Linked DNA regions of Homo sapiens: region 2 is linked to region 1. The links are contacts of gene promoters, found by promoter capture Hi-C in blood cells and fetal thymus (Javierre and others, 2016). All regions are on one chromosome and are shown on one strand. Each heading gives the region's core, a stretch centred on a gene start or on the middle of the fragment in contact. The rest is flanking DNA. Distances are from core to core; before and after follow the strand shown. Region 1 holds the start of CCDC13-AS1 (CCDC13 antisense RNA 1). Region 2 overlaps NKTR (natural killer cell triggering receptor).

What was found. The method cuts DNA at HindIII sites, captures the fragments that hold promoters and counts their contacts. A CHiCAGO score of 5 or more calls a contact.
Region 2: a fragment that was not itself captured here is called in contact with the fragment with the promoter of CCDC13-AS1 in region 1 in 3 of 17 cell types (M2 macrophages, M0 macrophages and M1 macrophages); the score reaches 8.2 in M2 macrophages.

Annotation. Positions count from the first base shown.
Region 1 is chr3:42,731,006-42,735,604 of GRCh38, reverse strand. CCDC13-AS1 (CCDC13 antisense RNA 1) reads right to left here and starts at 3,030. Exons shown (of 4, transcript NR_046732.1): 1 at 2,947-3,030. It overlaps CCDC13 (coiled-coil domain containing 13), which reads left to right. Exons shown (of 16, transcript NM_144719.4): 11 at 1,996-2,135; 12 at 2,635-2,718. RefSeq lists enhancers at 1,115-1,798, 1,799-2,484, 3,014-3,308 and a silencer at 3,014-3,308. The HindIII fragment of the contact is 15,297 bases long and covers 1-4,599 here.
Region 2 is chr3:42,625,393-42,629,848 of GRCh38, reverse strand. All of the region lies in intron 6 of NKTR (natural killer cell triggering receptor), which reads right to left. All of the region lies in intron 1 of ZBTB47-AS1 (ZBTB47 and NKTR antisense RNA 1), which reads left to right. Among named protein-coding and RNA genes, the nearest start is that of ZBTB47, 26 kb to the left of the region's middle. The HindIII fragment of the contact is 2,871 bases long and covers 1-2,780 here.

The DNA of each region.
Region 1 (4,599 bases), core at 1,781-4,280:
TCCTTCCTGGCTCCACTTTGGCCACCTGCTTCTATCTGGCTCCCCAACCCATTCTGCACACAAACCTGATTGTGTCCTTGCTCTACTTAAAATCTGTTCATGGCTTACTGTCACCCTCGACCTCACCTGGTTCTCAAGGACCCAGGCACCTTCCAGTTTACCCTCTCCCATCCCCAGCTGTGGCCTTATCCTCAGGATTCAAGATGGTGGCAGTAGCTCCAGCAGCAGGATGAGAGAAGGAAAGCCACACTTCATTCAGCTTCTAGGCACCATGTGACTAACTCTTGCTGCCACCCCTCCTGCATCTTCTCTTCACCCCTCCCCTTTCCCTACACTCTGCTACCCAGGCACCATTCAGCTCCTGCTTGCTCCGCACTCCAGGGCTACGCGCAGCGTGAAGCACACTCCCTCCCCTCCTCCCCCACGGCCTCGGTCTGGCCGGCTGCCCCTCAGCCTTTAGGTCTTACCTAGTCAGGAGCTCCTCCAGGAAGCCCCAGGACCCCTGTTCTGTGTTGTGTTCCCCTCCTAGGCACTCTCCTAACTCCCTATGCATCCCCAAACCAAACTTCTCTCACGCTGTGTAGTCATTTTCCTGTTTTCTCCCCTGCACTCTCTGTAAGGGAGCACAGACCGTGGTGCCTCAGTGCCTGGCACTGGAGCAAGCACACAGTAGATGCTCAATAAATGCTTGTCTAAGGCATGAGCTTGTAAAGATATTTTGTCTTGGCAGGTGCCTTGAGGGCACAGCTTGGGGCTGCTAGGAGTCAGGCACCTTCACCTCCCTGGGGTGGTGGTGGGGCTGGGTGGTGTCCTTGGGGAGAATTTCTTGACAGGCATGCAGGTCTCCCAGTGACAAAGGAGCCTTGCAGCCTCTGGCCCACTGGGAAATTGACTGGCTCAGCCAAAGGCATGTTGCAAAGCAGCCCTGCTCTTTGTTTCTGGGGATCCGTGGTTTGTTCAGAGGTGAGAGCCCAAGAGCCCCTCGGCCCTGCCTCAGTCTGGCATTGGCTGACCAGCCTGGTTTGTCCTGTAGCCTCTATTCCCACAGGCCAGGGTAGCCTGGGGCCCCAGGACTGGCTGTGACATAGTGCTGTGAGGCTGAAGGGGAGCCTGGGGGCACAAGGAAGTCTGGGAACAGAGCACATACGGCAGTGAATGGGGACTCACCCTGCTCCCCATCCTGGCTCACTGGGGAGGGAAGTCTGAAGGGGAAGATTCCAGCATCTTCACCTCACCACTGTCCTTTCTCCAGGCACACAGGAGAAGACTGTTCCTACCTCCGAGGTCACCAGCTGAATGGGGGCCAAGCATTACCCACCAGACTTAAGTCGGCACACGTTTCGAGTTTTCTCAAAATGGGTGGGGCTGGGGGACAAGCCAGGTTGTTAGGGGCTTACACCGGTTGTCCACTCTGGTGGCCTGACCTCCTGCTGGGGGTCCTCTAATGTTCCTGTCCAGTCCAGCCCCAGCAGGTATCCAGAAGAGGAAGGGGTTGAGGGAGGGGTGGGGGCCTGGCAGGCTTAGCCTCCACCCAAGGCTGCCTGCCCTCACTGAGTCCCTGCCAGCCTCTCTGGCTGCAGGTGTCTGGAAGGTCCAGGTGTTCCAGCTGAGGAAGGCAGCTGGCCTCAAGTCACACCTGGTGTTCAACCACATGTGGGTGGGGCCGCCTGGAGAAGCGGACCCACTCAGAGACGTCAGTCTCTGACCTGCCCCGCATGCAGGGCCGTGCACCTCCCTCTGGAACCTGAATGTAGAACAGCTTCCTGGCCCAGTCACCGTCCTCACACCATGTAGCTTTCTTTCTGAAGAGAGGCATTATTAGATGTCATTATCATGCAAGTAGTGCCTTCACCAAACAGGCCTCGCTTTTCACTCCTGAAAAGAAGCCTCTTTCATATCCTCTGAAAGCCCCGAAATCAAGCCAAGATCCCCTCCTGCCTTCTCTAGGCCTCTGAGCCAAAGCCCTGAGGATGGAACCCACATCTGTTCCTACAGTATCTTCGGAATAAAGGAGTGGGTGAGGGGTCCAGTGGCCGCGAGGTCAGCCCTGCCTATACCCAGTTCCTGGAGGACCCAGGCCTGACCAAGTCCCCGGCCTCAGCAGGCGATCATGTTGGCAGGCTTGGATCTTCTCGGTAAGAAAACAATGGGAGGGAGGGGTTGGAAAGTGAACATTAATTATTCGGAAGAAAGGTTGTTTCTTGCTACCTCTGATGGGAAGCCACAGGTGCAATTTTAAGATGACTATGCTGTTGTTCTTCCAATACGTGGGCCTCTCCTATGACATTAGCTCTGCGTCTGCAGAAATGAGCCGGTTAGGCCCAGATTTTATCACTTCAAGAGCATGCTGGTTGCAGCTCTCTGTAAGAGCCTTTCTGAGCTGGCCTCAAAAGTTTTCTGCCCCTGGGGCCTTCAAACAGACCCGTGTTGGGTTGTTCAAGGCTCTGGTGTCTCCTGTTCTGTCTCATTTTGAGCAAACAAGAGTTCTGGAAAGAAGGGCAGCAAATCCACAGGACTGCTGCAAGGGTTTCCTGGACCCCTGCTGGCCACTGCTCCACCTCACATGCAGAGGTGAGGCCCAGTAGGGCCTGGTCTGCCTTCCCAGGCTGATGGGCCCCTTCCGCCTTTACACAGCTCTGTGACCAGCCTGGGCCACACACTGGTGGAATCTGCTCTCACGAGGCCTTCCCTGCCCAGTCCCCACAGGACCTCACCTAGGTATGGACCCCCGACCCCCGGACTCTCACAGTTTTTTCCCATTCTTGATTGCTCAACCAGTATTGCCATCCCATTAAAAGGAGGGGAAACTGAGGCCAGGCAAAGTCCAGGGACTCTTCCAAGGTTACATAAAGACAGGGAGGATCAGGGAAGTCCTGTCCAAGATGATAGAGTAAGCAGCTTCAGAACTAGAATCTTGGCCTCTGACTCCCAGGCTAGGGTTCCTACCTGCTACGTGAGAATTAACCTGAGGAACCTTCCTGGGCCTGGCTTCTAGCACCTTCCCTCATCTTCTCTTGCTCATTGAGAATCAGCCTCTAAGGGGAGAATTTCACATGATATGGGTTCCCACTGATATCCCCTCAGACCTTGGGCCCCCTCTTTGTTGACAGAATCAAGCCAGAGGGTGTAAATGGGCCCTTTGTTCCTACTGCCAGCCCATAGACAAAGGACAGCGTTGTCCTGCCTCTAAGCCCTGTCCCGAGCCCTGCCCACTGTCCACTGGAGCCATGCTCCTGCTGTCAACACTCCCCACCCTGACCCCTCAGGCAGGTCAGCTCAGGTTCCAGGCAAAGCCTCCAAGTGGCCCCAGTCCCTCATCTCTGTGGCTCCAGGCAAACTGGTCCTTCTCTGGGCTGCTATCCCCGAAAAGTGGGGGACAGCATGCTGCTGACACTTGGCAGCATAGGGTCTGTGGGCCAAAGCTGCCCCACCCATCAGGCTGGGGTCATAAAGGCACTTGGGGAGAGTGGGCTGACACTGAGCCACAAGGCATGTGCCACGCTCCTTAGGGTGGGAGGTCTTGTCACAGCACAGGGAGATTGGGGAGGCTCTGCCTCTCTGAGGTTTTAGTCACAGTAAAGAGAGCAGGAAGATGGACAAGATGACCCCTTCGAGCCCCTTCCAGGCCTGTGTGGCTGTGACCTCTGTGCCACACAGAAATACAGGAGCTGCTCTGTGCCTTGGCTGCCCAGACTGCTGGTTGTCAGGCTTGTTTCTTCCACAACACACAAATACTTACTAAACTCGACCATGTGTGGGCCCTACCCTCATGGAGCTTACAGTCCCCTCCCACAGGTGACAGGACAGGAATTCACAGGGCAGAGTGATCCCAGAGAGTATGTCTATTCGGGCTGGCATGGTTTGAACCCATTCCCTTCAGGTGACTCTGGTGGGGTGCCTGGGAGGAGGGCAGAGTGAAGAATCGGCCCTTTGCTCCTGCTCCTCCTCTTCCCACATTCTAGAACTGGGGAAATGAATGGGGCTTTCCAAACTGCAGTGCACACACAGAGCCCCTGCTGATCAGCCAGGTCAAGTGTGGGTTCTGATTCAGCAGGTCTGGGGTAAAGCCTGGGATTCTGCATTTCTAACAAGCTGCTAGGAGATGCCAGAGCCACCGATTCAGAGACCACTTGTAGTAGCAAGGCCTTAGAGCATATTTAGGAGTCACAGAGGGGTCTGCAGTTCTCGGAGCCCATCTAAACCACCCCTCTCAATGTTTAGTGGGGGAACTGGGGCCAAGAGAGAGGAAGAGACCTGCCCAAGACCACCGAGAAGTCAGCCCTCAGGATCACATGCCCCAGCCCAGTTTTCAGTACACTGCCCAGCTCTGCAGCCTTCCCTATGCCCTGTACTGCTAGAAAAGTAAGCTCAGGGTCTCACTGGGAAAAGTGGGGGCACAGCGGAGAGCAGCTTGGAACTCACATGTGGGCTCTGGGGGGTTGAAGTTGGGGGGCAGAGTTTACCTTCTGTCCTGGCTCCAGCCAGCAGGTAAGAGGGAAGCAGTGATGGGTTGGCTTAGGGCTGGAGAAAATTGAACAAGTCACAAAGCCAAATGCACAGGCTCCAGGAAAGTGGGCTGGGCTTGGGGACCAAGCCAGA
Region 2 (4,456 bases), core at 96-2,595, 100 kb after region 1:
CTTCTTCTACAGTCACCAACTGTCAGACAGTCACTCTTGGGAAGCCTACAGGGTATATTTGGTTAAGATATTTTGAACCCAAGCTAGTTTTCCCATAGCATTTTCACAGATCTTCACATTATATGAATTGCAGTGGAAAAAATTCAAAAGCAGATAATTAGTCTCAGAATTATATACTACAAGCATCTTGATTTATAAGAATGAGAAACAGATATTTAAGAGCTAGAAAACAGAAATTTGAAAGAGAGAAAAATATCACTAGATGTCAGGCCATGTTAAAGCAGTCAACTGTACTAGAAGCTGCCATATAAATTTCTGTATTCATTTTAAGGCAATTTTAAGACATGTAAGTGAACAAAACCCAGTTTTTAACCTTCGTAACAATGCTAAAAATATTTATTCTACAAGGATTTGTAATGCTTATACTTACATTAAGAATATTCGGTTCTGTAAGAGCACTACAGAATTTAATTTAAAAAAATTAAAATGTCAACTTAAGAAGTTCCAGAATTTTAAAGGAAATATTAAGTTTTAAAAGCAAAAATCTCAAATATTCCTTAGAAGATTGAAAAGTGGAAATTCATGCCAATGTAATTATAAAAATAAAAACAGGCAGCAAAAAGAAAACAGAACAAAAACTATCTAGTGAATTAGTGAGCCACTAGTGTTTAAATCATTAAACTAGCATCCAGAAACCACCTTGGATGGTAACTTCAAGATAGAAATGTGCTTTAATTATAAAACTTTACCAAAGTACACTAAAGACAAGAAATTGGTACAGAAGCTAGTGACTCTATTATATGAAAGATGTAAAGAGTGCTTTTATTTTTATTTGTTTGTTTATTTTGAGATGGAGTCTCACTCTGTTGCCCAGGCTAGAGTGCGATGGCATGATCTCGGCTCAATGCAACCTCTGCCTCCCGGATTCAAGTGATTCTCCTGCCTCAGCCTCCTGAGTAGCTGGGATTATAGGCATGCGCCACCAGGCCCATCTAATTTCTGTAATTTTAGTAGAGACGGGGTTTCACCATGTTGGCCAAGCTGGTCTCAAACTCCTGACCTCAGGTGATCCACCTGCCTCAGCCTCTCAAAGTGCTGGGATTATAGGCATGAGCCACCACACCCAGCCAAAAGGGCTTTTAAAAAAGTAAATTTTTCTACAGTGTAAGGGATCAGCCCCAAATATTTAGAAGTAAAAACGATGTATGGTTTCCTGATTAGATACATTCCTTCTCCTTCTTTGATCCGTTCCTCCCATGACTCACAGATCCTGCAGTATTGGGGAAAGCCTGCAAATTTTTCTTAAAACATAAAGAGCCCAATTCAATTTGCCATCTTGGCTGATAGAAAGGCTGTAAAAACCACTTTATGGCAAACCTTTGGAGAAAATGGTGGAATAAAACATTCCAGAGTAGTGTAGCGATGCAGCAACATACTACTTGAGACTCAATTTGAGGATGGAATAGCTATCTTTATGACATTCAAGTTTAGTTTTTAATTCAAATGAAAACTGCCAAGAATAGGCAAACTTGGTCCTTTATAGCAGTAGTGCAGAAAACAAATGAAGACACGAATGACTATTTCAAGGACAACTCAGCCTGCCCATAGTGCCTAAACCTGATATGAATGATTAAAGTCCATTACTTGCATCTGCAACTCAAGATACAGAAATATAAGTCTGCACTTTAATTGGATTAGATTACATATTAAGAATACTAAAAGTATTTAACAAAAAGAAGCCCTCTGGGGTTCTCAACCTACATTCCAGGAGTAGAAATCCCAATGTAAAGCAGGGTTACTGGCACTTGGCTAATACGTGGATGAACAGAGGACATTAGCCAAAGAGGGTTACAAAAGGGCGGAGAGAAATAATATCCACAATCCAGACTATTCAATTCTACTAAAAGAGGCAGAGAGCTCATCTCACTAACTCTTAATCTTTCAAAATCTTCAATTAAAAGAAAAATTGCATTGATCTTAAAAGCGGCTGTTTAAAGAGCTGTGCAATGGTGACACATGCTCAGTAAGTTAAGGCCAGAGGCTATCAAAAATGTTTAAATTTATATATGCTTATGAAAACATACCTAAAAAAGAAAAAACCACAAAGAACATTTCAAATTGTAAAACCTTTCAATATTTATGCATTTCCATTTTTCTCTTGTACTTAAAGACAGTGATTTTTCAGTTTTCCCGACCCCTGAATCTACTTTAAAAAACATGTGTGCAAGGTATTTAAGCCTTATAAATCTTAGAAATTGACAAGTGTCACTGCTACTCCAAAAACAATCTATAGTTTTATACCATTATCAGAGAACCTTTTGCCCTTATACAGAAATGACTAATTCCACACTGAAATGAGAACTAAAACCATACTATAAACTAATAACCCCACTCCCCCACCAGAAGATGTACAGGAACTTGGTGGAAACAAGCCACTGAAGTTAAAATATAGTTCCCAGGATTAACCATGAAAAATAAAATGCACTTGTTTTACATGTACTGCTGCTATACAGATAAAGCAGAAAGTTTTTTTTTTTCTTAAAATGTTTCAATGCACATAACAACAGAATTAAAGAGATAAAGGCAAAGAGAGAGAGAGCCTTAGAGTAATGAGACATTACCTTTGGAGCGCACGGTGTAACACTCTTTCTGTAAATTTTACACAAAAATGGCAAGAAATAAATTGTAATACACTTTTAAGACAAGACTGAATCTATGTTTTAATATCAATATAACTTTGAAATTAATTATTTTCAAGTTTTATGCAGAGCAAGAAAGCTTTTTTAAATGGAGGGCTCTAAATTTTCTTTCATATGGGATATTTACGTAGAGATGAATTATGCTTAAGAAAAGCATCGTGGCTAAGTGGGAATCTATTTAGATCCTTAATATTGTAACATAGAGTGCCAATAATAGCTATTAACATATTACATTTCCTTTCACAAATCCCAGAAATTAGCTAAGACAACATTTTCTCAAAAGAGAATAGTGTATCTTGCATACATACATAAATATAAAAATCTGAATGCCCAGGACCAGTTACTACCAGTTGAAAGCAAAAATTTCATTAGAAAAAAGTGAGTTAAGATCATCCAAAATAAAATTTCAAGGAACTTTTAACTAATTCACATCAAATAATTAAAGAACCTTTCATGCTTCTACATTTGAAACCTTTGTTTGGTGACGTATCACAACAGACTACTTTCAGGAGTTAATGAGCAAATGTTCGGACCCTAGTTACTGTTCAGTGATATTAGATACACATTGAAGTTAAGTCACTGAACATAATAATAAAGCAGCATTAACTACAATTTTAGGGACCTTCTCAGAGAATAAAAAGGCAAGAGAGATGAAAGCGTAAGTGCAGTCAAATCTTAGCCACAATATCTTCTTTTCCTGTCTAATCTCTGATTTTCCCCATTATCAAGATTTTTTTTTGGAGAACACACACTGACCAATTTTTATCTATATTTAAACAAATAAATCTATTACTACTCAGATCAAAATACTATTATACCATGAACAAAATGCTTTATAAGAGTTTTGAATGTAATAAATCTTGAAATATTTAAAAATAAGCTTAAAATTATCATAAAGGCATTGACAACATGAATAAGTCAAAAAAGAACATAATGTTTGAAATAATGTGGAGTTTTCAATGAATGTTGCAAAAAAAAAAAATAAGTGACTGTAGGTGTAAAGTAGTACAGAAGAGGGAAATAAAGATAACTTCTGTCCACTTTAGCTTTTAACATGCAATGCTTTCCCTTCAACTCCTGAAACTATCACACTGTCAGGGAAGAGGCACCAAATTGTACAGAATGACAACACTTGTATAAGGGTAATGGAAACTAACCAAGCCACTTGACAATGCTCTACCCATGTGTTCCAAAAGTCACCAAAATAGAAGTGCTTTCTAAAATTCAGCACTAATGTTAAGATAATACACACCAAACATTACTAGATAAAAAATTTCTTCCACATTGCTAGCACGTAAGTCACATAAACATTAAGTTATTAAGCCTGAATGTTAGGGATGACACTTGATATTCAGAGAATATGGTTTATGGCTAAGTTTCACGAACATCTTTGCTCATGAAAAAATCTGAAATTAACATATGAAGGTATTACCCCAAAAAAAGGAAGGAAAAAGCTAGAGCTTCTCAGGTTATTAACACTTACTAGCATTTCTTCTTACATAAATTTATGAATACGTGGGTAGAAAAAGCATTTCTACCCCGAATCTAGTTTTATTACCCAAAACATCAACACAGCTTTACAAACCCCTTAAAACCAACTACTCCTCAACTCTCCTTGCTCCACTACTTTGTAATAATCAGCACTTCTCTCCCATTCAGGTACTTGCAAGTCAGATTCTTAAATGACATAAAACATATTCTAAAACTTATGCCCCGCCCCCCCATTGCCCTATTTATGACTGTTAAAATGTAGCAAA